Linked DNA regions of Homo sapiens: all the other regions are linked to region 1. Evidence: promoter capture Hi-C in 16 types of primary human blood cells and fetal thymus (Javierre and others, 2016). All regions are on one chromosome and are shown on one strand. Each heading gives the region's core, a stretch centred on a gene start or on the middle of the fragment in contact. The rest is flanking DNA. Distances are from core to core; before and after follow the strand shown. Region 1 holds the start of PDHA1 (pyruvate dehydrogenase E1 subunit alpha 1). Region 2 holds the start of SCML2 (Scm polycomb group protein like 2). Region 3 has its middle 21 kb from the start of SCML2. Region 4 has its middle 23 kb from the start of CDKL5. Region 5 overlaps CDKL5 (cyclin dependent kinase like 5). Region 6 holds the start of RS1 (retinoschisin 1). Region 7 holds the start of PPEF1-AS1 (PPEF1 antisense RNA 1).

Region 1 (4,112 bases), core at 1,349-3,848:
GTGTCTCATGCCTATAATCCCAGCACTTTGGGAGGCTGAGACGGGCGGATCACGAGGTCAGGAGATCAAGACCATACTGTCTAACATGGTGAAACCCTGTCTCTACGAAAAATACAAAAAAAATTAACCGGGCGTGGTGGCGGGCACCTGTAGTCCCAGCTACTCGGGAGGCTGAGGCAGGAGAATGGCGTGAACCTGGGAGGCGGAGCTTGCAGTGAGTTGAAATTGCACCACTACACTCCAGCCTGGGCGACAGAGCGAGACTCTGTCTCAAAAAAATAAATAAATAAAATATATATATATACACGTATGTGTGTATATATATGTATATATATGAAGAACAAGAAGTGCAGAGAAAATATCCTAGTCATTGAAAAATTGGTTACTTTGTTTCTGCACTGCAAAGTTACTTTAAACTTTGTAATGAATCTAGTGGAGAGATCATTTGAGATGAGGCAAATGTCCTGTTTCTCATCATACATTTACCCACTAATTTTAGCCTGTATTGATGATAATTCTCACCTGCAACAGTTACTGTGGTCTTTGCCAAATGGTGATTTTCTTTTTCTATTTTCATCATTCCTTCTATATTAATTAATTGGAATTCTACTGTAAGGAAAAGTTGTTCCTTCTAACCCATTGATTTGTTCAATCATGTATTTAAGTAGGACCTATATTTTACTTGTTCCTTGCTATATCTTCAGTGTGTAGTACAGTGTCTGACACAAAATCGGTGCTCAATAATAGGTGTTGGATGAATGAGCAAATGAATGAATGAATTCATATTCATATGGCCTACAGAGTTCCCGTACATGCACAACCAATATCACCACCCCGTGGAGATGACTCCCAAATTAATATTTTTAGCAAATGTTCCAGACTTACAACTCCAACTTCCCGGGGGACATCTTCAGATAGCTGTGCCACTGCCACCACCAGGTCAACATGTCCCAAACCATTCAGACCAGCTTTTTCTCCTGAGCTGGACATCTGGCCTCCAACCTTTTCATTCTCTTTTACCTTTCATATTCTATCAGCAGCAGCAGCTGCTGAAATCATACCATGCAAGTTTCTCACGTCCATCTCTGCCTTTTAATGGCGCCCTCTCACTCCTTTAAGAAGTTTTCTTCCACTGCAACACGATCTCTCAGTCCAGAGTCTGGCCCAGTGCCCAAATTATTTCTCTAGCTATGCTGAGAGCTGGTCATGCTTTGAACTTCTGCTTTGAATACTTTCAGTGACACTGGGAGAGAATTATCTCATTGGACCATTGTCATTGTTAGAAAATTCATTGTTATGCTGAAATGAAATGATTTTATTCACACACACACACACACACACACAAAATAGCTCTTCCTCCTGGAACATGACTGGCCTGAAAATGTGTGAAGACATATCCAATCCTCTCTGGTTTTACTGTTCATCCAATTTTCTGTTCTCCTCCTGGCAGGAGGATTATATTTCACCTTGTGGAACTCAGACATGGTCGGGTAACTAGCTCTGGTCCGTGAAAATTGAGAGGAAGTGACATGTGTCACTTCTGGGCAGAAGCTTTGAGAGCCGGTTTAAATGATCCCTTTTCTCTTCATCCATGAGACAAGCTAAGTTCCAGAGAGAGGGTGCCACGCTGTGAGGGACCTGTGTTACGAGTACGATGGCTCGCGTCACTTCAAATTCTTGAAATCACTGAAATTTGGAGGTCAGTTGTTACATCATAACCCAGCCAATTCTAGTTAGCCTGTTTTCTTCCTAACTTCTTTAATCGTTCTTCATAAGTCACAATCGCAGCCCCTCACCGTTCTGACCACTGTCCCCTGGATTCCACTCAGTTTACTCATTATCCCCCTTAAAATGTGGAGCCCAAATCTGAACCCGGAACCCCAGGTGCAATCCCACTAGGACACAACACAATGGGTTCCTGAGCCCTTTGATCCTCTGAATAGAGCCCCTTGTTGCTTTGGTGTTTTGTCTCTGTGTGTGCTTTTATCATCGGCTGAGCCACGCTGTTAACTCGCAGTGAGCCTGTGAACCAATAACTAGAGAAAAAAGATTTTTCCCATTGTCCTCTCGACATATATTGGGAAACAAATTTTTTGATCCGCGTTCAAGTAGACAGGGCAGAACTGTCCAACTGCTACGTGATCTTTTAAAGACAAAGTTAGTGGCAGACCATTTACAGAAACCAGATGTTCTGTCTTTTGGCTCTGAGCATGCTGCTAATCTTCATCATCTAGTGTACTGAACGAGATGTACTGAACGAGGGCTGCAGAGCTGCAGCACCGGCAGGAGTAGGCGCTCGGTAGGACGGGGCCTGCACAACCTCCCCGGTAGTCAGCAGAGCGGAATCTAGGAAGGCTCCTTTCCCGCGGCGCCCTGGAGGCGGGGGCCCCACCTTCCCACGCAGGCGCTATCAAGCCCCGCCTCCTCACCCGCCCGCGGCGTGGCGTCGGAAAGAGCCCTCAGCCCCTCCCTCTCTGGCGCTGATACCCAATGGGCAGCCTCAGGCCTTTAGCGGGGGCGGGGCACCCCCTGGACGCCGTTCTGGTTGGCCCGCGGCCCGGCGCAGCGCATGACGTTATTACGACTCTGTCACGCCGCGGTGCGACTGAGGCGTGGCGTCTGCTGGGGCACCTGAAGGAGACTTGGGGGCACCCGCGTCGTGCCTCCTGGGTTGTGAGGAGTCGCCGCTGCCGCCACTGCCTGTGCTTCATGAGGAAGATGCTCGCCGCCGTCTCCCGCGTGCTGTCTGGCGCTTCTCAGAAGCCGGTGAGACCTCCCGGGCGGGCCGGGATGGGGCGCGAGTGGGGCTGAGGCGGGGCCGGAGGGCAGGGCGGGCCAGGCCGGGCCACCCAGAGCGGGGTGGAAGGCGCCAGGGGAGCCGGGGAGCCTTTACTTCGCCTCCGCGCCCTGCATTCCGTTCCTGGCCTCGGGAGAAGCGGCACGGACCGGGATCACGCCAAGGTCCGTGTGAACTTCCCCCTTCTCGACACCCACCTCCCGCCCCCGGGCCCAGCTGTGCGCCAGGCGAAGTCGGTGTGCTCAAGAGGTGCCTGTTGGGTTACAGGACACGGAAAGGGTGGCCTCGGCCTCCTTCGAGTCTCCAATTGACCCCACTCATTTCGGATCTTCTAACTTAATTTCTCTTGACCGAGAGGCTTTGTAATAGCGTAGAATCTGGAGACAGGGTGGCTTCGTTCAAACAGCACCCTCACCATTGACTAGCCCTGTGACCTTGAGCAAGTTTTTAAACGTCCCGGGGACCCGGTTTCCTAAAATGTTTGCTCGAAGTGGAGTTAATCTCTAAATGGAGATAAGAGTTATCTCTGAAATGTTATCAGTTAACTCTAAAATGGAGATAATAAGAGTCCCCACCTCTTGGGGTTGTCTTGAGGATTCAACGAGTGACACGTGTGGAAACGATTCCAAATAGCACCTGGCACATAATCGATAACATGTGTGTTGAATAGTGTTATTTATTGAGTCTCCAGTTCGGTATACATTTCTTGAACACCTGTGCTCAGTTCTGAGGCGGGTTCACAGAAGGTCAGCCTCTTCAGAAACAAACTTCCTCCTCTTCCCTCTCCCTCAACATCTGAGCTTTTCTTGGCAGTGAGTTCAGGAGCGCCGAAGCAGAACTCAGAGGACGCTGCCCTCCCCTCCCCTTACCTACACATTCTTAGGGTACAAGTAGCTAAAGCAAAGAGCAACGATGCTTGAGGGGTGGGGGGTAGAGTTTAGCACTATTTCATGGCCTCAGCATTTAGAGGTGCCTAACACCTGAGCTAGCATTCTGACCCCCCTAGGCACAGTGAGGTCGTGTTAATTGGTGTAACTGCAGGCCTCGGGATTCTGGTATTTCCCCCAGGACTTGATACCGCTCTACTTAGTACAGGCAGAGATTGTCAAAAGGTAAGAGGTATGCCCCTCTAGGAATCCTGTTGCCTAAAATAATGACAAAACTGCCGGGTGCGGTGGCTCAGGCCTGTAATCCCAGCATTTTGGGAGGCTGAGGCAGGTGGATCACCTGAGGTCAGAAGTTCGAGATCAGCCTGGCCAACATGGTGAAACCCCGTCTCTACTAAAAATACAAAATTAGCCGGTCGTGGTGGCGG
Region 2 (4,112 bases), core at 448-2,947, 990 kb before region 1:
CTTTGGGAGGCCAAGGCAGGAGGATCACCTGAGGTCAGGAGTTTTGAGACCAGCCTGGCCAACTAGGTGAAACCCCGTCTCTACTAAAAATGCAAAAATTAGCTGGGCATGGTGGCACACCCCTGTAATCCTAACTACTCAGGAGGCTGAGGTGGGAAAATTGCTTGAACGCAGGAAGCAGAAGCTGCAGTGGGCTGAGATCACGCCACTGCACTACAGCCTGGGCAACACAGCGAGAGCCCATCTCAAAAAAAAAAAAACATCACCAACATTTGCCATTTTCAAAATGTCCAGGTTTTTAGTTCCTGGAATCAACAATCAGTTCAAATTCTAAGGTATTATGTAGTAATTCTCAGACATTAATAATGGTTCTAAAATTATTAGGGATGCTTGATTTGCCCACTGCAAACTACAAAACACCTTCTGGCAATGACAGACTAATCTTTGCACCACAGCTCATAGCTCTAAGGCTGATAGCTGGCAGAGCCCACTTTGTTCTTGTATATCCTAAAAATCAGGAATATGACTATGAGGAGACAGTGAGACCTACCCTCCCCACCCCGAGAGGGTAGCTAATAGAGAGGACCTCCGATTTCCATTCACAAGTGGAATGAGAATAGAGGGAGAAAAATGGCAGACAGAATAACCAGGCAAAAAAAAAAAAAAGACTAGAGGTGACTAATAAGGCAAACAGCAGAGGATACTGCTGTATCCACCCGTGTTCCAGTTACTAGAGTTACAAAAGTCATTGCTATTAACCCCAAAAGAAAGGCAGTAAAATAGTCAAGTGAAACTTTTCTCTCGCACCCCCAAGAGCTCAAACTAAAATTGGGATTTGGCTCTTCCTTAAATGGAACAAGTGGCTACATCAAGTTAATTCAAAAGACTTGGTATTTACTCAGCCTTTTCAAGGCACTTTACCATCATTAATTATTTCTCAGTGAAGCAGCAAAGGATTACCCTGACCATTTCACTGATGCGGAAACAGACACCAACAGCAAAGGGAACAGGGGCAGGAAGAGGGGTGATAGGAAGCATCTGGGAGGAACAGGCAGGCAGCTAAAAAGGAACAAGCCCAAAAGAAAATAAGAGTCACATCTGGCTTATAGCTGAGGATCATAACCCTTATTTGTTATTTCTGAGCTCAGAGATTTCTGCAACATTTTGAAAAAACAAAGTGCTTTAAAATACCAGTTAAAACTTAATTACAGCTTAAACTACTTAGTAATAGAAATTGCTTAGTATTAAAAAATACCCAATCTTCAGAGCACATATTGATTTCCATTTATACCAGCAACTCATTTTTCCCCTCAAGCTTAACCAGTATGTTATCTATTTGAACCAGAAAATAATCTCATGAAAATATATAGCTTTATATAATCCTAACCAAAAAATCACAAAGTTAACATCACGTAAGTCAGAAATAGTTTGCAGCTACACTCAGAATTTTGTTTGGAGAATTATGACAAAAATACTGACTTCTCGAGTTCGCCCTTTGAATGAAAGGAATACTTGTTCTACATTCGTATTGATTTTTTTAGCTATAACTCCCTGAAATTTTCAGGAATAAACTATGGGTGGAAAGCCTTAAACACCCTGAAATTAGCACACGTAGTGGGCTCTGAATAAACTGAACTCCATAGTAAAGACAGCACAGGTGCTTAATAAAGATGTGTTGATGGAATCATAAATCAAAAGGACTGATCAACCACCTCATGAGAAAAACTGATACACCTTTTTTAGACTGACTGTAATGATTTTTGAACGTTATGACACTATCAACTTTAAAGCACCCGCACATATAATGCAGTAGAGTTACAGTAATCTTTTTTCCAACTACCAATTCCAAAGCAAATCAGGTTCTCTGGGGTAAACAAGTATACATCCTTAAGAAGTTCATATGGCTGCATGATGTATATATAAAGTTCATTCAAAACTTTCAAAGCCAGTTTAAATGGTGTTTTTTCTTTACATTCTATCAAACTGTTTTAAAGGTTATAGATAAAGCTAAACACAAGGCATCAGGTGAATACTCATAAACTCAATCTTTTCTCAAAAATCCCACTGGATTCATTTCCAAAAGCTTATTTTCACATTCCTCCCATTAAATAGAAAAAAAAAAAAAAAACACACAAACAGCCTGAAAGCACATTCGTAATTGGAAATATTTTATTTAATGAGTAATTAAGAAAAATAAAAGAAAGGCAAAATCGTCATTATTGAAAAACATTTCCCTCGCTGTTATTGAAAAGAATTAAATATGCGTTTATGAACCATTGTTATAAAACAATTGCTCATCATAGGCAGCTGTACTCCATAAATGTTGTACATCTTAAAATACTTTTCCCTCAAAACAGAAATATGAATAGCTCTGGGGGCATTAAAATGTAGCAGCATCTGAAGCTGTTTTAGGGAAAAAAACAACTATCTCCAATACTTTTGTAAATCATATGATCATAAGCAACTTATTCACTTTCCCTGCCTCAGTTTACCCCCACTAATCGATCCATTAACTTTCCAGAGAAGACCTAAAGTAAGTCATAAACGTTAATCTCCTAATTTACAAACAAGAAGCAAATTTCAAGTTGCAATCACACTTTGTGATGCTTGACAAATGTTTAACAACCTCTTTTTAAAAAATAAATAGTCTCAAATGGGAGCCTGTAAGTAAATACTTGTGCTGCCCAAACATTTGGGGTTTGGGGGAGCCGAATTACAAGTCGGCCCAGGAAGCTATCTATGTACAACCTTGAGGCGCAAAATCGAGCAAATTCGCCTAGACCCATTCTCCCTCCGGCTCTTCACACCTGGATGGGGCGCAAGCACGATACAGGTGGAAAAAGCGAGAAAGGTAAGAAACCATTTCGAGACTGTTTCTAAGTGACGGCAGCAACTTTTTTTCGGTCAGGCCGCGAGGCCGCCTCTCCGCCCCTCAGGAGGCTTAGAGCCCCTCCTCGCCTCCCCGCCAGCCCCGGACGGGACGCGCATTCCGGTCCCGCTGCACCGCTAGGGTGAGCCACCGGCGCCCCCAGCCCCCGCCAGGAGCCCGGCGGCGCGCACCTTGGCACCAGGATTTGCGCCCGCACGCCGCCACAGGCGCATCCTTCCGGGCCGACGTTTCCCTCCCAAACTCCAAAAGTTATCTCAGCCCAGACCAGGCAAAGTCTACCTCCTTCCTCCGCCCCGCCACCCACCGTGATGCCCCCCAGGCCCCAGCCCGGCCCTACCCACGGCAGGGAGGATGCGCCGGAGGGCGCTGTCGGCGCTGCAGGCGAGGGGACGGGTGGAAGCTATCGGCCGGGCGCCCAAACCCCGCGGCGGCGAAAAGGCCCCGGGGCGGCGTGAGGGGAAACGCGAGATCGGCTGAAGGGCGTCCGCGGAAGGCGCCGGGGGCGGGATACCCTATCGCGAAGCCGAACTGAGATGGGACATAGGCGGGATCGTAAGGGGGCGTTCCTCGCACGGGACGCGCGCTGATGGCTTCTACCCGCCCGCCCACGGACAACGGTCGGGGTCCGGGACACACCTCCGCCTCTCCATTCCTTACGGGGCCCGGAATCACCACGTACCTCCAGTCTCGTCGGTGAAAACAACGAAATTCTGTCCCACCGATCGCGCGAGCCGGCACCGAGCTTCACACCGCCGCCGCCATGTTTGAGAAGCCGCGCGCGGAGCCGCGCATGCCCCGCAACCGCCACTGCCGCCCCGCCCCCCGCGCGGCCGGCCCGCGTGCCCTGCGGTTGCCGCGAGCACGCCCTTTGACCGCCGCCGCGTGCGGGGCCCGAGCCGGGGTCAAGCCGAGCGCCACCGCAGGCAGTGGCGGACCATGAGACACTGTGAGCCCGGGAAAGCCCTTGGCACTTTGCCTCCTACCCCCCACGCCTACGCCAAATGAAAAACCAGTCGCAGCCCAAGCACCCGAGGCCGTGGGGAGCCCCTCGATGGGACCCCGGGTTCCACGTCAAGTTCCATCCCGGGAACTCGCTCCCCTTCACTGTCGCCTTCGAATCCTGGCCACCACCCACCCTGGCCACGCACCCAAAAAGCAGGCGCTTCCCTCGGAACTCAAGCAAGTTCGAGGAGCAGGGAGAAGCAGCTGGTTACAGCAGCTT
Region 3 (4,112 bases), core at 625-3,124, 970 kb before region 1:
ACATTTATACAGCAGAAACCATTATCAAGGAGAAAGGAATGTGCCAGGTTTTGCCCATACCCATAAAATCAACACTGAATCAAATCCCAGGATTGATCTAACCTAAGGCAAGAGACATTTAACAGACTCCAGCCCCTGGAAGGCCAGACATAAGCATCCAGCTACCCTTCCACATCATTTGATTCTGATATGGGACCTTAATTCTTACATCCAGAATTCTTACTTTGTCACTGCCCCAAGTACCTATTCTGGAAACTTGCTTAACATCTCAGTCTCCTACTGGGGGCTCTAGATCTTATCATTGGATTCTACCTTGGCCTTTGTCCCTCATTTTTGGTTCTAATAACTTTCACAGTCTATCTTTTCTTTAACCTGGGATCCCTGCATGAACTGGAGAGCTTCCCCGGAACTGCAGCTACTAGATGGCACCTTCTTCTTCGTCCTCCTCATCTTCATTCTCCTCCTCAACAACTTTATTGAGGTATAATCAACATAAGAAGAACTGCACATATTTCATGTATACAATGTGATGAGCTTGGACATATGCAAACACTAGTTGATAACATCACCACAATCAAGGTAATATACATGTCCAACACCTGCTAAAGTTTCCTTGTTTTTTTCTTTTTCTTTTTTTTTGAGATGGAGTCTTGCTCTGTCGCCCAGGCTGGAGTGCAGTGGCGCAATCTCGGCTCACTGCAACCTCTGCCTCCCGGGTTCAAGAGATTCTCCTGCCTCAGCCTCCCAAGTAGCTGGGATTACAGGCACCTGCCACCATGCCTGGCTAATTTTTGTATTTTTAGTAGAGACGGGGTTTCACCATGTTGGTCAGGCTGGTCTTGAGCTTCTGACCTCAGGTGATCCACCTGCCTTGGCCTCCCAAAGTGTTGGGATTACAGGCGTGAGCCACCACACCCAGCCCTGTTTTTGCTTTTGTAGTAAGAACACTTTGTCGGGCTCGGTGGCTCACACCTGTAATCCCACCACTTTGGGAGGCCGAGGCGGGCAGATCACGAGGTCAGGAGTTCGAGACCAGCCTGACTAACATGGAGAAACCCCCGTCTATGCTAAAAATACAAAAAATTAGCCAGGCATGGTGGCAGGCACCTGTAATCCCAACTACTTGGGAGGCTGAGGCAGGAGAATCACTTGAACCCAGGAGGCGGAGGTTGCAGTGAGCCAAGATTGCGCCACTGCACTCCAGCCTGGGCGACAGAGAAAAACTCCAGCTCAAAAAGCAAACAAACAATTTTTGTCTTGAAAAACAAGGAGCCTTTTTCCTGTGTGGGACTAGTTTACTTATAATTACCAGCTGATTGGACTGGAACCTATACACTTGTTTATTTAGCCTCCGATATCAATATAGCTCCCAAGAACCAATCCCTCATTATACCTTTAACTGCAACCGCCAGACACAAACGAGCCATCCAACTCCTACCCCTTTTGGTAAGCCTAGAAATAACAGCGGGAGTAGGAATGGGAGTTGGTGGGCTTGCAACTTCCCTGTCCTATCACCAATGCTTGTCCAAGGGTCACAGAACTCTCGCCCCACTCTGTCTAGTGGAGGGTGGCTTCTTGATGGCCGGTGGTAGGGTCTTCACCTGGAACTGGCTGGAAACCTTGTCGCAGGATCATCTGAAGCTTGATGGTCTCTAGGCAAGAGGAAATGAATTCGGTTAAGAGATTTAACAAAGATGGTCCAGGCCAGGCACGGTGGCTCATGCCTGTAATCCCAACACTTTGGGAGGCTGAGGTGGGCGGATCACCTGAGGTCAGGAATTTGAGACAAGACTGGCCGATATGGTGAAACCCTGTTTCCACTAAAAATACAAAAATTAGCCAGGCATGATGGCACGTGCCTGTAATCCCAGCTACTCCAGAGGCTGACACAGGAGAATTGCTTAAACGTGGGAGGTGGAGGTTACAGTGAGCTGAGATCATGCCATGGCACTCCAGCCTGGGCAACAGAGCAAGACTTCGTCCCAAAATAAATAAATAAATAAAGTCCAAAAACCAAAACCAAGACAAGTGTAATAATTAATAATTGGCCAGCCAGAGGAAGGAGCCATGAACTTAGCATTTTTGACCAGGAGCCCCATGACTCAGACAAGCTTTCAGACAGCTTGGAAGATACACAATCAAATAGACTCCTTAGCAGCAGTTGCTTTACAAAATAGAAGGGGACTGGATCTCCTAACTGCTGAAAAAGGTGGCTTATGTCTTTTCCTAGAAGAATGCTTTTTTATATCAATCAATCAGGATTAATAAGAGATGACACCAGAAAACTAGCCAATTGGGCCTCTAAGGTACGACAACAGCTGTCCAAGTCATGGGGCTCCTGGCCAAAAATGCTAAGTAGGGGTTCATGGCTCCTTCTGCTGGCTGGCCAATTATTAATGATTATACTTGTCTTGGTTTTTGGACCATGTTTGTTAAATCTCTTAACCAATTTCGTTTCTTCTTGCCTAGGGACCATCAAACTTCAGATGATCATGCAACAAGGTTTCCAGCCAGTTCCAGCTGAAGACACTACTGTTGGCCATCAAGAAGCCACCCTGTCTCCACTAGACAGAGAGCGGCGAGAGTTCTGTGATCCCCAATGGTAGGGACTACACCCCAAGTCAGCTGGAAGCAGTCACATAAGAAAGACCATTGGTCCCTCTGCCTCCCATAAAAATGTATGGGGATCACATCTCTCAGTGGGGAAATGAGGCAGGAGAATAGGGTCTGGAGGCAGGGAACCCAAGGCCAATTCACACTGACTTCCTAGTACTGAATCAAAAGGAAAACCCCACCTCTCCACACCCAAGTAACAAAAGGATCAGCGGCTACTCCCTTACCACTGCGTCACAGATGAAAAATGGAAAGCACCTCTGATTGGTCCCCTCCCGCGACCAATCAGACTGATTGCAGGCCAAGTTGTTTGTTTGTTTTTTTTTTTTTTTTGAGACAGGGTCTCACTCTGTCGCCCAGGCTATAGTGCAGTGGTGCGATCTCCGTTCACTGCAACCTCCACCTCCTAGGTTCATGCAATTCTCTTGCCTCAGCGCAGCCTCCCAGGTAGTTGGGACTATAGCGCGTGTTACCACGCCTGGCTAAATTTTGTATTTTTAGTAGAGATGGGGTTTCACCATGTTGGCCAGGCTGGTCTCGAACACCCGCCTCAGCCTCCCAAAGTGCTGGAATTACAGGCGTGAGCCACTGCCTTTGTAACTTCACTTCAGCCTCTGATTGTTCGCCTCCCATGACCAATCAGACTAGTCGTTGGCCAAGTCTTCATTTACATAGGGTATAACCAAGTAGCCAATGGGAAACCTCTAGAGGTTATTTAAACCCCAGAAAATTCTGTAACCAGTGCTCTCAAGCCACTTGCTTGAGCCTGCTGCCATTCTGGAGCATACTTTCGTTTCAGTAAATCTGTCCTTTTGTTGCTTCATTCTTTCACTGCTTCGTTTGTGCGTTTTGTCCAATTCTTTGTTCAAAACGCCAAGAACCTGGGCAACTCCAGTGACAGGACTACTGTGATTGATTGACATGCTGGCTACTTCATCCTGGATTACCTATCCCATTTCTGTCTGTAATTTGCTCTTAGACCCTGAGCCCCCTCATTTGTCCAGCCAAACTATCTCTCCAGCTCCCCAAAGAAAGTTGTCCCAAGCTAGGAAGGGATCAGTACCAAGTCTTTCCTCCTGGCTAGCTAGCCACTTATAACTACCTGATTCTGCCCCCACTAAATACTGGGATATGACTATAAGATGCTGGAACAGGTGTAGGTAAAGTATTTAGAGAGTTAAGCAGGCCAGAAGTGATGGCTCACACCTGTAATCCCAGCTCCTTGGGGGGCCAAGTCAGGAGGATTGCTTGAACTCAGGAGTTCGAGACCAGCCCGGGCAAAATAGTAAGCCCTCATCATGCAAAAAAATTTAAAAATTAGCTGGATGTGGTGGTGCATGTCTTCAGTCCCAGCTACTGGGGAGGCTGAGGCAGGAGGATCACTTGAGCCGGGAGTTCAAGGCTGCAGTGAGCTATGATCGGCCACTGCATTCCAGCCTGGGCAAGCCCCTGCCTTAAAAAAAAAAAAAAAAAAAATGTTGGGCAGGATGTGGTGGCTC
Region 4 (4,112 bases), core at 802-3,301, 940 kb before region 1:
GGCATGTTGGTGCACACCTCTGGTCCCAGCTACATGGGAGGCTGAGGTGGGAAAATAGCTTGATCTTTGGGAGATATTATATATTAAGAATATATAAGATTAGGTTTGAGTATTAGTGAAGAATGCACTGAGCTGGTAACTAGGTGATCACGACTGAAAGGGAGTCAGGATCATGCATGCATGGGTTTGGGTAAAGTGGCGGATTTTGAAAATCAGACAATAAAAAGCTACATTGGGGTTCTGAGAGAGAGAAGCTTGAGCAGATGAAAGTTAAGGCACTGGCGAACGCAGTGGCTCATGCCTGTAATCCCAGCACTTTGGGAGGCCGAGGTGGGCGGATCACTTGAGGTCAAGAGTTCAAGACCAGCCTGGCCAACATGGTGAAACCCCATCTCTACTAAAAATACAAAAAAAATTAGCTGGGCATGGTGGCGCATGCCTGTAATCCCAGCTACTCGGGAGGCTGAGGCAGGAGAATCGCTTGAACCTGGGAGGCGGAGGTTGCAGTGAGCCGAGATCACACCACTGCATTCCAGCCTGGGCAACAGAGCGAGACTCCATCTCAAAAAAAAAAAAAAAAGTCCAGGCACTGGCATTCCAAGCCTGGCAGCTGGGAATAGAGTGTGGCATGTGATGAGCTATTCAGGCTTCACCTGGGCTGGTGCGTGGCTATCATTGGTGTCAGTGGCCTGCAACAGAGCCAGAACAGTGCAGAAATGGTGGTGTTAGGTGATGTGTTCACATGGATATTGAACTCACAAGGGCCTGCCTGTGAATCACCATGTGCGGACTTTATAATATCAGCTGACACTTACTTACGGTGTGCCAGGCACCATTCTAAATCCTTCACATGTGTTAAACCACTCAATTCTCTCAACAAGCCCAAGAGGTAAGTGTGATTAGTATTCCCCATTTTGTAGATGGGTAAACTGAGGAAGGCAGCACTTAAGTAAGTTGCCCAAGGTCACACAGCTGGGAAGCGGATGAGCCAGAATTTGAATGTAAGCGGTCCGGTGCCAGAGTCCATGCTCTTAACCACTGTACTGCCTTTATACAAGCAGATGCCTGAGTCCAACCAGGATGATGGTCCTGGATCCTTCTCATTTGTCCCTGTCCTGTTTTTTTGTCTGAGTTTGGTCTCCCTCTGTGTGTTAACTCTTAGCTTTGCAAAAAAATATTGATCTTGTCTCCGGCCTTTGGAACACATGTTTGTATTTGGTCTTTCCAGTGGAGTCTCAGGTGGCCTCTGACTAGATTTGTCTCTCTGGGTCATCATAACCCACATTGCTCCAACCAGCATCCTGGGTCCGACTGCAGACACTCTTACTCTGAAACCGGCTTGCTCTCCTTTGATTCCAGCCTCCCAAGGCCCTATCCTTGACCTCCCATCTCTGGGGTTAGCTGGGTCGAGTAAACCCCCAGTGGGGAGGCCCAAGTGCATAGCAGCTCAGGGATCAGACCCTTGCCCCACCATGACCCCCTCTGATGGCTGATACAGGGAAGATTTGGAGACCTGGGGACTTGCTGTCCTGGCAGACACAGGTTTCAGCTGAGGCCAGGGGATGGAGGTAGGGAGACAGCAAGAAATTCGGTTTAGAATGCAGGGGAACTGGCCTCATCAGGCACCATAGGATGGCCTCAGGGATGAGGGGAGGGGGCAGGCTAAGTGAAGTGGGGTCAGGAATGAAAGCACAAGTGGTGACAGTGGGAAGGAAAAGCCGAGCCAGAGAGCCCCATTGCTAAGGAAAGCTGCGGTGATCGCGAGAGCCCTCTGCCCGCTGGAGTCCTGCTTGGGTGTGAGAGGGACCTGGGGTTCACTGTTCAGTCGCTTCTGCTGGACACAAGCCTTTTAGTCTCTCAAACAGAGGTTGTAACTCTTGTGAGTCCTGGCCTCTGAAAATCTGGTGAAAAACATGGACCATCCCCTAAGACAGTCGTAGGAGTGCACACAACCAATCCACATTCTGCATGTAATGTGGGTGAGCCATAGCTCCCTCTGGAAATAAACCCTGGATCTCAGGGTAAGAATTCCTGCTCTAGAACTTTTAACATCACCCCCATTCTTTTTTTGTTTTGTTTTGTTTGTTTTTGAGACAGAGTGTCACTCTGTCGCCCATACTGGAGTGCGGTGGTGCGATTTCCGCTCACTGCAACCTCTGCCTCCCGGGTTCAAGTGATTCTCTTGCCTCAGCCTCCCTAGTAGCTGCGATTACAGGTGCGCACCACCACGCCTGGCTAATTTTTGTATTCTTAGTAGAGACAGGGTTTTGCCATGTTGGCCAGGCTGGTCTTGAACTCCTGGCCTCCAGTGATCCACCCACCTCAGCCTCCCAAAGTGCTGGGATTACAGCCATGAGCCACCACACCCAGCCTCAGGTAGTTCTTTATAGCAACGCAAGAACAGACTAATACACAAAGTGATGCATCTACAAGCCAAGTAATGCCAAGGATTGCCAGCAAACCACCAGAAGCTGAGGAAGAGGCTCTCACAGCCCTCAGAAGGAGCCAACCCTGCGGACACCTTGTTCTCACACTTCTGGCCTCCAGAACTTCGAGATAATAAATGTCTGTTATTAAACTGCCCAGATTGTGGCACTTTGTTGCAACAGACTGAGCAGATGAATACAGTGGAGGAGCGCCTGTGGTTCTTGTTTGGGCACAGAGCTGTGAGTGCATACACTGGCTACTGCATCATACGAGGAAATGGAGAGAAGGCAGGAGGGAGGGAACATGAAGTACACTGAGGCCCAGGTCTAGAGGCCAGCTGGTTGTGGGCTAAAGGCGGCAGCAGACAGATTTGCTTGGTTTTAGGATTGAGCAGGTGTCAGAGCTGGGAAGTGCTGAGAAATGAGGTCACAGAGTGAAACAGGCAACAGCTCAAAGAAAATCAGATGAGGGCGGGGTGTGGTGGCTCACACCTGTAATCCCAGTACTTTGGGAGGCCGAGATGGGGTGGATCACTTGAGCTCAGGAATTTGAGACCAGCCTGGGCAACATGGTGAAACCCCGTCTCTACTAAAAGCATAAAAAGTAGCCAGGTATAGGTGGCTCATGCCTGTAATCCCAGCTACTAGGGAGGCTGAGGCACAAGAATTGCTGGAACCCAGGAGGCGGAGATTACAGTGAGTCAAGATTGCACCACTACACTCCAGCCTGGGTGACAGAGCGAGACCCTGTTTCAAGGAAAAGAAAAGAAAATCAGATGAGGTTTAGGTGGATTTGGTCATGGAAAGAAAGGCCTTGGGGCGAGGGAGGCTTGGATGCCACGAGTAATCTCTTCAGCCCTCACCTCCGTACAAACAACTTTAAATCAATATACAATCGCTTGAACCTGGGAGGCAGAGGTTGCAGTGAGCCGAGATTGTGCCACTGCACTCCAGCCTAGGGGACAGAGCAAGACTCTGTCTCAAAAAAAAAAGTAAATAAATATACAATTTAATTAAAAAGTGTGTTGATGTAAACATACAATCTTTAGGAGAGGTTGCATAGACCAAGCTGTTGTCCTAAGCCCCCTGTATTAGTCTGCTAGGGCTGCATAACAAAATACCACTGAGTGGGTGGCTTAAACAGTAGAAATTTATTCTCTCACGGTTCTCAGGGCTGGAAGTCCAAGATCAGTGTATCAGCAGGTTTAGTTTCTCTTGAGGCCTCTCTCCATGGTTTGTAGATGGCCACCTTCTTGCTGTGTCCTCACATGGCCTTTTCTCTATGGATGTGAACCCCTGCTACCTCCTCCTCTTCTTATAAGGACATCAGTCATATTGGATTAAGACCCTACCCTAAGTGCCTCATTTTTTCTTAGTTACCTATTTAAGGGCCCAATCTTCAAGTATAGTTACACTGAGGATTGAAGCTTCAGTATATTAATTTTGAGGCTGGGTGAAGTGGCTCACACTTGTAATCTGCAGCACTTTGGGAGGCCAAGGCAGGAGGACCGCTTGAGGCCAGGAGTTCAAGACCAGCCTGGGCAATAGAGTAAGAGCTTGTCTCTACAAAAATTAAAAGAAAAATTAGCTGAGCGTGGTGGCACACACTTGTAGTCCCAGATACTCGGGAGGCTGAGGTGGGAGGATCCCTTCAGCCTCAGAGGCAGAGGTTGCAGTGAGCCAAGA
Region 5 (4,112 bases), core at 562-3,061, 900 kb before region 1:
CTATATCCCAGCACTTTGGGAGGCCAAGGCAGGCAGATCACCAGAGGTTGGGAGTTCGAGATCAGCCTGGCTAACATGGTGAAACCCCATCTCTACTAAATATACAAAATTAGCTGGGTGTGGTGGCTCCCACCTGTAATCCCAGCTACTCGGGTGGCTGAGGCAGGAGAATCGCTTGAAGCCAGGAGGTGGAGGTTGCAGTGAGCTGGGATTGCATCACTGCACTCCAGTCTGGGCGACAGAGTGAGATTTGGTCTCCAAAAAAAAAAAAAAAAGCTTTGTTTATACTATACTGTAGTCTATTAAGTGTGCAATAACATTATGTCTAAAAAAAAAAAGCACATACTTTAATTAAAAATAATTTATTGCCAAAAAATGCTAGCAATAATTTGACCCTTCAGTGACCCATAACCTTTTTGCTGGTGGTGGGTTTTGCCTTAGTATTGATGGTGACTGACTGATCAGGATGGTGGTTGCTGAAGGTTGGGGGATCTGTGGCAGTTTCTTAAAATAGGACAGCAATGAAGTTTGCCATATCTGTTGACTGTTCCTTTCATTGTAGGTTCTTCTGTAGCATACGATGCTGTTTGATAGCGTTTTACCCACATTAGAACTATTTCTCCAAGCCTGCTGCTGCTTTATCAACTAAGTTTATAGAGTAGTGTATTTTTGAAATAGTCATTTCAAAAATGTTTAAGGCATCTTTACCAGTAGATTTCATCTCAGAAAAACAGTTCCTTTGTTCTTCCATAAGCAGCAACTCCTTTGTCCATTCATGTTTTATCATGAGATCACAGCAATTCAGTCATATCTTCAGGCTCCTCTTGCCTTGGCCTCCCAAAGTGGTAGGATTGTAGGTGTGAACCACTGCACCTGGCCATATCATTTTTTTGTGTGTGTTTTGGGTTTTTTTAGACGGAGTTTTGCTCTTGTTGCCCAGACTGTAGCACAATGGCACTATCTTGGCTCACTGCAACCTCTGCCTCCCGGGTTCAAGCAATTCTCCTGCCTCAGCCTCCCAAGTAGCTGAGATTACAGGCATGTGCCACCACACCTAGGTAATTTTGTATTTTTAGTAGAGACGGCGTTTCACTGTGTTGGTCAGGCTGGTCTCGAACTCCTGACCTCAGGTGATCCACCCACTTCAGCCTCCATATAATCTTTGTGTCTTTAAATGGGTATGTCTTTCCTTCTGCTAGGCCGTTAGTGCTGGTATTTGAGTTAATCTAGTTAGGAATTGGTGTAGCCAAGTCCAAGGTTGTACTACTCACCAAATGACAGCCAATAAGTTAAGAGACAAGGTGTTGGCGCAAAGAAAGCAACCTTATTTGGAGAGCCAGCAACCTGAGAAGATGGTGGACTAGTAATGTCCGAAAGAACCATCTTAATATGAATTTTCGCCTCCTTTTATGTTAGAGGAAGAGGGAAGAGGGAGGAGGTTGAGGTCAAGAGATGACTATGATGACCACAGACATCTAGGTGGCAGTGAGGGTCTGTGGAGGTTGTGAAACTTCTTTGTCCTTGGTCAGGTCACAATACTATAAATCTTTAACATGGCTGGGCATGGTGGCTCACTCCTGTAATCCTAGCACTTTGGGAAGCCGAGTCAGGCAGATAACTTGAGTCTAGGAGTTCAAGACCAGCCTGGGCAACATGGTGAAACACCGTCTCTATCAAAAATACAAAAATTAGCTGGGTGTGGTGGCACACACCTGTAGTCCCGCTACTCAGGAGGCTGAGGTGGGAGGATCACCTGAGCCCAGGAGGTCGAGGCTGCAGTGAGCCATGATTGCACCACTGCACTCTAGCCTGGGTGACAGAGTGAGACCCTGTCTCAAAAAAAAAAATCATTAACAACGTTGTTACTTGTGTGTACACTGCCCCTATCTCTTCAGGGGTTTTCAGAAGGGACTATTTGCTTTAAACTATAAACTGAATTTCTCCCATAGTTAGATGGTTTCACTGGGTGGTGGTGGGGGGGCTTAGAAGCAAAATGATGTTAGTCATGCTAGGCTTCCTTTTCACTGTTACATTGGGCTGGATTTGAGTTTTTTTGTGTTGTTATGGTTAACCTAGTGTACCCCAGTTTTCAAATTCTCTTAGAGATACTTTGTGATCAGGGTGGGAATTGGTTTACCAGAACAGTGTCTGTTCCAGTCTAAATTTCAGGTCTCCCCTTCGAAGTGTGCTTTAGTGAGGGTCTCTTTACATACTCTTGATTTTCTCCCGTCCCTTTCTCAGTGATATTCTGCTCTTACTGTTCCTGGAAGTTTGTTTGCTTGGAGGTGGGGAGGGGTGATAGGATGTGGTCTCTGTTCTTGATTAAGCCTCAGTTTCAGGCCTGACTCTCAGGATCTTGCCCCTTCCCTGGCTGTTGTATTGGGCTCAATGTGGAATCCTACCCCTCTCCCAGGACTTGGGCCCCCACCCCTCCTCCCTGCTGCTCTGATTTTTCACTATTGTCTTAAGGGTAGAAGTAACCATTGTCCTTTCTGTCACAGTGAAGGCTTGTCTTCCTGAGTGGAGATAGGGGAGAGTGATCTGAGGGTAGTGTCCAGCCTCTCAGGCTTAGCTGCTGCCCACCCCCAGGTTTGCATCACAATGAGCCTACCTCAGGACTCTTTAGAGCTCTGAGTGAGTGGGGTGGGGGAGTTGGAGGAGGAAGACCCTACAGGAAGTTGAGGTATCATATCCTCAATTTCTGTGACCCCCAGTGGTTTCACACTATCTTTTCAGCAAGCCACATTGGATTTCACGCATTTACTGACTCTTCTACCCGTTCTTTTTGGTGTCCAGCTGTACTCTCCAACAGGCGAGCACATGGTCGTCTCCTCTCTCCCTTCAGGTACTCTCCTTAGTTTTTGAGCCAACTGGTTGCTCTGTTGGTTTTTTTGTTTTGTTTTGTTTTGTTTTGTTTTGTTTTGTTTTGTTTTGAGGCGGAGTTTCGCTCTTTCGCCCAGGCTGAAGTGCTGTGGCGCGATCTCGGCTCACTGCAAGCTCCGCCTCCCGGGTTCACGCCATTCTCCTGCCTCAGCCTCCCGAGTAGCTGGGACTACAGGTGCCCGCCTCCACGCCCGGCTACTTTTTTTGTATTTTTGGTAGAGACGGGGTTTCACCATGTTAGCCAGGATGATCTCAATCTCTTGACCTCGTGATCCGCCCGCCTCGGCCTCCCAAAGTGCTGGGATTACAGGTGTGAGCCACCGCGCCTAGCGCTCTGTTGGGTTTAAAGAAAGTCTTGAATTTGAAATTAGTTCAGCTCTTTTTCATTGTAGTTCTCTTATTCCAGGGTTTAAGCCAGAAATTTGGTTACTCTTAAAATTTTAACATGAGCGTTTCCTTAAGTCTAAGCTTAATTATTATTCCTGTCCTCCTGAATAAGACCAAGAGTTTGGAATGATTTACTCCTTAACCGTCAGCCCCTCTTCCATGTTAATGTTATTTATGTGTTAGTTTTGCCTTATTTAAGCCACCTTACACCAATAAAAATAGTGAATATTTACTCATGTGCTTTTCAGGTTTCTTTGCTCACCATTCTTCCTTCACTCCATTTCTTCCTTCTTGGTTCAGTTTCTTCCTTCTTTATTAAAAAATGTTCTTAATTATTTCAGTAAGGGCCCCTTAATAGTAAATTTGGTTTTGGTGTTTGTGAAAGTGTCTGTACTTCACTTTTTCCCTTGAATGGTTGTTGAGCTGGGTCCAGAATTTTGGGTTAATTCCTTTCCCCGAGTACTTTGATGTTATTCTCTTGTGTTTTGACAAATTTGTAAATTTTTTTTAACTTTTAAGTTTGGGGCTACATGTGAAGTTTTGTTACATAGGTAAACACATGTCACAGGGGTTTGTTGTACATATTATTTCATCATCCAGGTAATAAGCCCAGTACCTAGTAGTTATCTTTTCTGCTCCTCTCCTTCCTCTCACCCTTCCCCTCAGGTAGAGGGGGATAGTTAATGTTATTCTTTTGTGTTTTGACAGATTTTTAAATTTTGTTTAACTTTTATTTTAGGTTTGGGGGTACACCTGAAGGTTTGTTACATAGGTAAACACATGTCTTAGGGGTTTGTTGTACAGATTATTTCATCACCCAGGTATTAAGCCCAGTACCCAAT
Region 6 (4,112 bases), core at 433-2,932, 670 kb before region 1:
CAGGTTGGGCAGGCTGGTCTCAAACTCCTGACCTCAGGTGATAGACCCGCCTCAGCCTCCCAAAGTGCTGGGATTACAGTCATGAGCCACCGCGCCCCGCCGTCATACACAATGTTTGCCCCCTAGCAGATAGTCAGGGATGAGCTCTTAAAAGAAGGGACCAAGGAATGAATGAATGAATCTCCATGCCAATCACAAAGAAGAGAAATCCGAGAGTGAGCCCTGGGAGTGTCTGACAACCAGGAGTATTTAGATCTAAGCCTTGAAAGAGTCTGCTTAGATTTTCTTGCTGAGGAAAGAGGAGGGGGCAAGGAGTAAAAGGAAAAACAACAAAACCCCAAAGCATCTTAAAGTAGTCAGAGTTACTGGGACAAGTTGCAGACTATTAATTGCAAGGGGAAAAAATCCTAACAGACAACTGGTTTACATGATCCCTACTTAGAAATATACCTTGGGGTTTGCAGAATGACCTTGGAATTATATTGTCACCAGTCTTTCCAAATACTGAGAAATGTGACTAAGTAACAAAAGTCATCAGCCTGGGAAACATGGTGAAAACCCCTCTCTACAAGAAATACAATAAATTAGCCGGATGTGGTGGTGCGTGCCTGTAGTCCCAGCTACTAGGGAGGCTGAGGCAGGAGGATGGCTTGAGCCTGGGAGGTTGAGGCTACAGTGAGCCGTGAAACCAAGAATTCTGATTCTACTTGTGTGAGTTTCGCTGTGTCTGTCTACCAGGTCATTTGCAGAGCACAGAGACCTCCTTCTCCCTGCTTTTTAATTTATTTTCTATAACACACAAATACACGATGTCCACAAAGAAGACAGGCAACCAATTTCTAACATCTGGATGAACCTGAGGAGAAATTCTGAGCAGATGGGTACTTGAGAATTGAGAGAGGCATGAAAGAATATTATTTCAAAGATTGAGAGGGAATTGGAACTGGATGACATTTTACAGATTTGCCCTTATTTTTTCCTAATTGAAGCATATCACTTCTGCTAGGGTCATATTTAGAAATTTTAAAATGAGTGAGTGTACTGAGTCTCCGAGGTTTCCTGACTCTCAGTTGGATTATGTTTTTTATTAGATTCCAGTGGTACTGGGTATGTTACGTTAATCCATATTTAAACTAGGTTGACCTTACACCCCAATTTGCCCTGGATGGTCCTGGGTTACACCTGTCGTCCCAACAGAATTATTAATAGCATCGTCCTCCACCGTCAATAGCATTCCGGTTTGGAATATTAAATTCTACAATCACTCCCACTTTGACTCCTAAAAGTTTTCCAGAATATGCCATACTTTCTCATTAATTGTTGCAACTTATGGCTATTTTATAGATTTCTGAGACCCATCCTGTTTTCTGTTGGATTTTAAGCATCCTTTGAACTTTAGAAGGCTCCTCACAGAACTGGAAAGCCATCCACACAAAGACAACTGTTGTTCATTAATAACACATGTTAGTTAATTAACGTGTTGCTAATTAATAATATTTATATTATTCAGGCTATATTCCTATTTATCAACGATATTAATTAAATTATGTATTAAGTATGCAATGAATGTCAATGGTTGAATAGCACATACCTTCATAGCCAAAGAGAAGTAATAACAAAAAGCCTTCTATCTTGCGTGACATCTTCCCCTCGTCCTCGGCCAAAGCTCTACCTTACTGAACTGGAGAGCTGGCCCAGGAGCAGGGGATTAAGTTGAGCCCTGGCCTCATTAAGCATCTTAATCCATTTAGTTCTTAGGTCTTTGGCTGAGCCCCATCAAGTTAACCCACAGAGTTACCTGCCTCAACAAGGAAGTCTCATGGAAGATACTAGCATCAACTGAGATTCAGTTCGCGAGGAAGATACTTTTCGTTCTTTTTTTTTTTTTTTTTTTTTTTTTTGAGATGGAGTTTCGCTCTTGTCACCCAGGCTGGAGTGCAATGGCGCCATCTCGGCTCACTGCAACCTCTGCCTCCCGGGTTCAATCTAGTCTCCTGCCTCAGCCTTCCGAGTAGCTGGGATTATAGGCTCACGCCACCACGCCCAGCTAATTTTTGTATTTTTAGTAGAGATGGGGTTTCGTCATGTCAGTCAGGCTGGTCTCGGACTCCTGACCTCAGGTGATCCACCCACCTCGGCCTCCCAAAGTGCTGGGATTACAGGCGTCAGCCACTGCGCCCGGCCCATACTGTTCATTCTATCTTAATGTAAGGGAAGCAATGGAGGGAGAGAACTACAACCAGAAGTCTCAGGTTTTCGTCCTTTCTTCGCCATCATTTTTTAGGGGGTGACCTTGAACAATTTCCTGCCACATAAGCACTAACATTCTCGAATTGTATGAAAATGTCATGGATTCCCCTCTTTGAAAGCAACTAGGCATCATGTGCACACCTATTCACTCAGGAAAATGCTAAATTTGGTGGTGGTGGGAGGACAGTTAACACAAAGCTGTGCATTGCTGTGTTACTTTTAACAACAACAAATTGGAAACAATCTAAATGGCCAAGGTTAGGGGGCTGGTTAAGTAAATCAAGAGATGAGTGCAGCCTGGTAGGTTTAAGAGCACAGACTGCCAACCCAGACTGGGTGCCAAATCGCAGCACTAGCACTTGTTACATTGTGACCTCAGGGCAAGTTATTAATATCTCTGCGCCTAAACTTTCTCATCTGTAAGATGATGATAATAATGCCTACTTTCGAGAGTTATTTTGAGGCTTACAAGAGATCATATGTATAAAATACTTAGCACAGTGCTAGACATAATTAGCTATTATTTTTACATCACCATTCAGAATAAAGTTGATGGGAGGAAAAGGGGAGTTGTTTAATAGGTATAGAGTTGAGTTTTGCAAGATGAAAAAGTTCCCGAGATCTGTTTCACAACAATGTGAATATACTTAACACTACTGAACTGTACACTTAAAAATGATTATGGTGGGCTGGAGGTGGTGGCTCACACCTGTAATCCCAGCACTTTGGGAGGCCAAGGCAGGCAGATCACTTGAGGTCAGGAGTTCGAGACCAGCCTGGGCAACATGGCGAAACCTCGTCTCTACCAAAAATACAAAAATTAGTCGGGCGTGGTGGCGTGCACCTATAATCTCAGCTACTCGGGAGGCTGAGGCAGGAGAATCGCTTGAACCCAGGAGGCCGAGGTTTCAGTGAGCCGAGATTGTACCACTGCACTCCAGCCTGGGTGACAGAGCCAGACTCTGTCTCAAAAAAAAAAAAAAATGGTTAAGGTGGTTTTAAAAAAGGCCGGGCACGGTGGCTCAAGCCTGTAATCCTAGCACTTTGGGAGGCCGAGGCGGGCGGATCACGAGGTCAGGAGATCGAGACCATCCTGGCTAACACGGTGAAACCCCGTCTCAACTAAAAATACAAAAAATTAGCCGGGCGAGGTGGCAGGCGCCTGTAGTCCCAGCTACTCGGGAGGCTGAGGCAGGAGAATGGTGTGAACCCGGGAGGCAGAGGTTGCAGTGAGCTGAGATCACGACACTGCACTCCAGCCTGGGCGACAGAGTGAGACTCCGCCTCCAAAAAAAAAAAAAAGAATAAAGTTGATGAAGTGATTGTAATAACAGGGAAAGAGTTACACTCAAGTTAGAAAAAGACGCAAATTTCTACACTGTTAAGGATGCATAACTAGGTTGAAAATGCAGAGAAAAATACTGAGTGCCCCTTCCCATTTTATATTTTTTGCTACCACCATCTCACCATGGCCCACACCCTCATTCCTCTTGTCAAAGATAAAAAAGCCAATATTTAAACAAATAATAAACTCCCCAAAGGAAACTGTAATGAAATAGTAAAGAGGAACAGAAAGAAACTAGAGAAACGTTTGCTCATTCAACCAGTATTTATTGAATGTCTACAAGCCTGACATTTATTTTATACTGTGTATGAACTCTATTCCACAAATTCTACTGCTGCATTAAAAGGGACTGTGGGGTTTTTTTTTTTTCGTGCTCTGCACATCAGAGTTTAATGAAAAATAGAACTTTTAATCAGAGTCATAATCATGACCGACCTTTAATAATTCACCTGCAGTCAAAGCGCTGCTGTATTGCCTGCCACATTTTAGTTGGAGGTTGGGTGGCCGGCCCTTGCTG
Region 7 (4,112 bases), core at 812-3,311, 650 kb before region 1:
TGGCCTCCCAAAGTGCTGGGATTACAGGCATGAGCCATCGTGCCTGGCCCAGGCCTTGTTTTATCAACATTCCTCCAAGAAACAAACTTTTCTTTGTTTACCATGTTCATGAACACAAAAATAGTTGATAAGGAGGCAATGGTGACAAAAAGAAAGCTGGAATCTGCCTTTCAATAAGCAAGAAATAGTCCTCTCATCCAGGTCATGTCGTCCACATTCCATTGGCAGGTATTGTCATATCTGCATCCTACATTGTGAGGTCACCAAGGCAACCTATTAATCATTCTAGAATCTACCTCTTGAAGATTACAAATGAGACTGGGAAACCCTCTTCAATAAGACCTGTGTGATGATAGATTGTGTCCTGAGCCCGCAGGTCAGGCTGAAAGAGTCAACAACCAGCAAAGTGAAGATCTAGGAGTCTGTTCCCCTTGAACCTGTGTGGACCTGATCAAACCTCGAGGGAAAGGTAAGAGAAGAGCACTTAGTGGACCAGGTGAATGGAGTATGATCCGGGTAGGCATGGGACAATGATCGAAAGTTAACCTGTGGCCTCTGTCTGTTTAGTTGTTTAGCCCAACTCTTGTGGTCTTTATGTTTTATGTATGAAGTTTGTTAAAAGCTTTAATATATATGTATAGGGTGAAACTGGGTCACCTTGATGTGCTGGTCACTGAGTCACAGGACTGTGACTTTGGGGAGGCCACCTAACTTCTCTGGGCGTGGTTTCCTCTCCTATAAAATGAAGATGTCTGAGGACCTTTCTAGACAAGTCCGAAGGATCAGAGTATCTTACCACATTTCAGCCTCACCTGTTACAGAGCTCTGGGCAGAGAACCTCATGATGGTCTTGCAAGGTGACTCCATTCTCTGTCTAGATCAGTTTTGCCCAATTCCCAGTGCTTTAACATGAGAGGGAGTTGCATCAGTGTGTAGTCTTTGTTTTACTTTTGTTCTTGGAATGGCAGATTGTAGCTCCTGTAGAAGGAAAAGAAGAAGAAATAAGGAATTAGCATTGCTCTACATTGACTCATGCTAGATGTCAATCTGAGATACATGTAAAACGTAAGCACATACAAGATAAAGAAACAGATTGTGGCAATATTTAAAAATATCCTAGCTTTCTAAATTAGAAGCAGTTCTGATAAGCCTATTTGGAATTCATGCAAAACATCCATAACTCTGACAGTCTGAATTGTACATGGCAAAGGTAAATTGCTTCCAGGCAGTAATTCTAGGTGCAGGTTTAGATGGACTATACGGTAATCAAGTCTCCATTGCTTTACAGATAGCCCTCACTCCTTGGCCTCTTACTTTCCAGATTGCTTCTTTGTTAGCCTCCCTGTTGGCTCCTTCCTCTTTTCATTCTCTTTAATGTCTCTATTCCCCAGTGTTCTGCTTTTGCCTCTATAGCTTTACTCTATAAGCTCTCCCTGGCTATTTTATCTTCTCTAATCACTTCAGCTATTGTCAGCAACCTGATGACCTATTTAATCTGACTCTCTGGTCCTGATTTATTTCCTGAGCTCCAAACCCAGGCTTCTCCTGCCTGTGGGATATTTCAACAGTGAGGTCTCACAAGTACTGAAATTTAGCACACTGCTGACTGAACTCACGATTTTTCTCCACCATAAACTCGCTTGTCCCCCTTCATGTCCGACTCTTGTACCCTTTAATACCCTATTGCAATGAATATCATCATCTCTTAGACTGTAAATTATAAGAAGGCAGAAACCATGTCTATCTTGTCCACCCCTTGTAACCACAGCACCTAGCATAGTGCCTGGCACATGGTAGACACCCAGTAAATATTGTCAAGTGAATGATGAATCTATTTATTCTTCCAAACTAAAAACCCTGGAATCCTCCTCGATGTCTCTGTCTCCCTCACTCTCCATGCCCAGTCTGAGACCTGTGGGGTTTGTTACATAAAACCCTTTTACATTTGGCTCCTTCTTCCCCTTCATCCCCGCTGCCATGACTTTAATTCAGCCCTTACCATCTATCTCCTGGATTATTGCAGGAGCCTCCTCATTGGTCTTCCTGTTACCTGCTTTTCCCCATTCATCACCATCTGATCCCCAGAGTGATCTTGCAGCTTGAATCTAATCAGCTTACCCTCAGGCTCCCCTTGACTTAAACAGAGTTTGCAATCTGGCAGCTTTAAGCGGAATCCACGCAGTCTGTACGGCATTTTGAGAAAATGAGAATGACTGTATTTTGTTGATTCTAAGATGCATTTTTTTTTCACATTTTAGCAGCTCTGATATTGGGATGTGTCTTGAAATGGACAGTGACATAGTTTGATCAGTGGTGTTCTCTCTTATTGGTACATAAAACAGCAGTGTACCCTGTAATCAGTGGCTTCATAAATTTGCTGAAAAATACTCATGCTAACATTTAAAAATAAGGAGATCGTACATAAAACTATCTTCAGCTTCTCTTGGAAAATTACATCAGGCAACACTGGGCTGCGATTTCTGGATAGCAGCCGAAGATGGAGCTACCAGTAAGTAGCAGCTACCTCATTTAGACAAAAACTCGCTACAGTGTCTCATGGTTTCCACCCAGGCTGCTTTAGTCATTTGTATTATCTGCCCCAGCCCATTAAGCATTTGAAAGGACAATCCCTGACTGATAAGTTGAAGTCCAGATTCTTTGTTGTGATTTATAAGAACACAGGTGGCACCAACCTACCTCCCCCAGGTTAATGCTCCCAACCTTTGCTGTGTACTCTATGTATCCCCTAATCTCAAATATAACAGACTCCCATGTTCCCTGGAATGTCTTTCTCTATCTTTTATGCCCTACGAAACATTTCCTGGTGTTCCCAGGTCGAGCTCATTTCTTTCTGGACTCCAGTAGTAAGTATGTGGGCGTATCTCTGCAAAAACCGCAGTTACTTTTGCACTAACCTAAAGTACAGTTCTGTGATTTATTTTTTATTTTTATTTTTTCGAGACGGAGTTTTTCTCTTGTTGCCCAGGCTGGAGTGTAATGGCGCAACCTTGGCTCACCGCAACCTCCGCCTCCCGGGTTCAAGGGATTCTCCTGCCTTAGCCTCCCAAGTAGCTGGGATTACAGGTGCCTGCCACCACGCCTGGCTAATTTTTTGTGTTTTTAGTAGAGACACGTTTTCACCGTTTTGGTCAGGCTGCTCTTGAACTCCTGACCTCAGGTGATCCACCCGCTTCGGCCTCCCAAAGTGCTGAGATGGCAGGCGTGAGCCACCACGCCCAGCCAGTTCTGTGAATTTTAACACATGGATAGATTAGCATAACCACCATCATCATCAGGATATAGAACATGCCCCCCAAAACTCCCTCCTGCTAGCCCTTTGTAGTCACTCCCCTCCCTCACCCATAAACCCCTGGTAACCACTGATCAGTTCCCTGTCACTATAGTTTTGTCTTTTTGAGAATGCGATATAACTGTCTGTATCCCTTTCAGCATGGCCTCTTCCACTCAGCATAATGCCTTTGAGACCCATCCAGGTTGTGTGTATCAGCTTCATTTGTTTTTATTGCTAAGTAGCATTTCATTGTATGGATGTCCCACAGTTTGTGGGACACTCACGGAAGGACATTTAAGCTGTTTTCAATGTTTGACCGTATGAACCTGCATACACGTTTTTGCATGAATAGAAAATTTTATTTCTCTAGGATAGCTACCCAGGAGTAGGATTGCTGTCGTATGGTAAGTGTATGTTCAACTTTATAAGAAAGTACCAAACTCTTTTTCAGAGTGACTGTACCACTTTGCATTCCTGCCAGCAAAGTGTTAGAGTTCGAGTTGCTCCACATTCTAGCCAGCACTGGATATTGTATTAAAAAAAAAAATTTTAGCTGGGCACAGTGGCTCACGCCTATAATACAAATACTTTGGGAGGCTGAGGCAGGCGGATACCTAGAGACCAGTCTGAACAACGTGGCAAAACCCACTCCCTACAAAAAATACAAAAATTAGCCGGGCATGGTGGCATGTACCTGTGATCCCAACTACTTGGGAGGCTGAGGTGGAAGGATAGCTTGAGCCCAGAAAGTTGAAGTTGCAGTGAGCTGTGATTGTGTCACTGTGCTCCAGCCTGGTGACAGAGTGAGACCCTGTCTCAA

The links. Contacts are between HindIII fragments. The CHiCAGO score rates a contact against its expected background, and 5 or more counts as called.
Region 2: a contact is called between a fragment that was not itself captured here and the fragment with the promoter of PDHA1 in region 1, in 14 of 17 cell types (total B cells, naive CD4 T cells, naive CD8 T cells and 11 more). The highest score is 14.8, in total B cells.
Region 3: a fragment that was not itself captured here is called in contact with the fragment with the promoter of PDHA1 in region 1 in 5 of 17 cell types (activated CD4 T cells, naive B cells, naive CD4 T cells and 2 more); the score reaches 7.2 in activated CD4 T cells.
Region 4: a fragment that was not itself captured here is called in contact with the fragment with the promoter of PDHA1 in region 1 in 14 of 17 cell types (total B cells, total CD8 T cells, endothelial precursors and 11 more); the score reaches 11.0 in total B cells.
Region 5: a contact is called between a fragment that was not itself captured here and the fragment with the promoter of PDHA1 in region 1, in 8 of 17 cell types (naive B cells, total B cells, naive CD8 T cells and 5 more). The highest score is 8.4, in naive B cells.
Region 6: a contact is called between the fragment with the promoter of RS1 here and the fragment with the promoter of PDHA1 in region 1, in 14 of 17 cell types (total CD4 T cells, non-activated CD4 T cells, naive CD8 T cells and 11 more). The highest score is 11.6, in total CD4 T cells.
Region 7: the fragment with the promoter of PPEF1-AS1 here is called in contact with the fragment with the promoter of PDHA1 in region 1 in 4 of 17 cell types (M2 macrophages, endothelial precursors, total CD4 T cells and 1 more); the score reaches 7.4 in M2 macrophages.

Annotation. Positions count from the first base shown.
Region 1 is chrX:19,341,329-19,345,440 of GRCh38, forward strand. PDHA1 (pyruvate dehydrogenase E1 subunit alpha 1) reads left to right here and starts at 2,599. Exons shown (of 11, transcript NM_000284.4): 1 at 2,599-2,766. The coding sequence starts at 2,710. The HindIII fragment of the contact is 3,035 bases long and covers 1,550-4,112 here.
Region 2 is chrX:18,351,023-18,355,134 of GRCh38, forward strand. It overlaps SCML2 (Scm polycomb group protein like 2), which reads right to left and starts at 3,666. Exons shown (of 15, transcript NM_006089.3): 1 at 3,570-3,666. The HindIII fragment of the contact is 768 bases long and covers 1,314-2,081 here.
Region 3 is chrX:18,373,557-18,377,668 of GRCh38, forward strand. No RefSeq gene overlaps it. Among named protein-coding and RNA genes, the nearest start is that of SCML2, 21 kb to the left of the region's middle. The HindIII fragment of the contact is 470 bases long and covers 1,640-2,109 here.
Region 4 is chrX:18,400,573-18,404,684 of GRCh38, forward strand. No RefSeq gene overlaps it. Among named protein-coding and RNA genes, the nearest start is that of CDKL5, 23 kb to the right of the region's middle. The HindIII fragment of the contact is 3,599 bases long and covers 253-3,851 here.
Region 5 is chrX:18,439,579-18,443,690 of GRCh38, forward strand. The region is part of intron 1 of CDKL5 (cyclin dependent kinase like 5); the gene reads left to right. Among named protein-coding and RNA genes, the nearest start is that of CDKL5, 16 kb to the left of the region's middle. RefSeq lists enhancers at 2,499-3,000, 3,001-3,500. The HindIII fragment of the contact is 3,075 bases long and covers 275-3,349 here.
Region 6 is chrX:18,670,426-18,674,537 of GRCh38, forward strand. It overlaps RS1 (retinoschisin 1), which reads right to left and starts at 1,683. Exons shown (of 6, transcript NM_000330.4): 1 at 1,592-1,683. The coding sequence starts at 1,643. The HindIII fragment of the contact is 14,405 bases long and covers 1-4,112 here.
Region 7 is chrX:18,690,626-18,694,737 of GRCh38, forward strand. It overlaps PPEF1-AS1 (PPEF1 antisense RNA 1), which reads right to left and starts at 2,062. Exons shown (of 3, transcript NR_046642.1): 1 at 2,000-2,062; 2 at 813-978. It also overlaps a transcript of PPEF1 not described here. The HindIII fragment of the contact is 4,386 bases long and covers 621-4,112 here.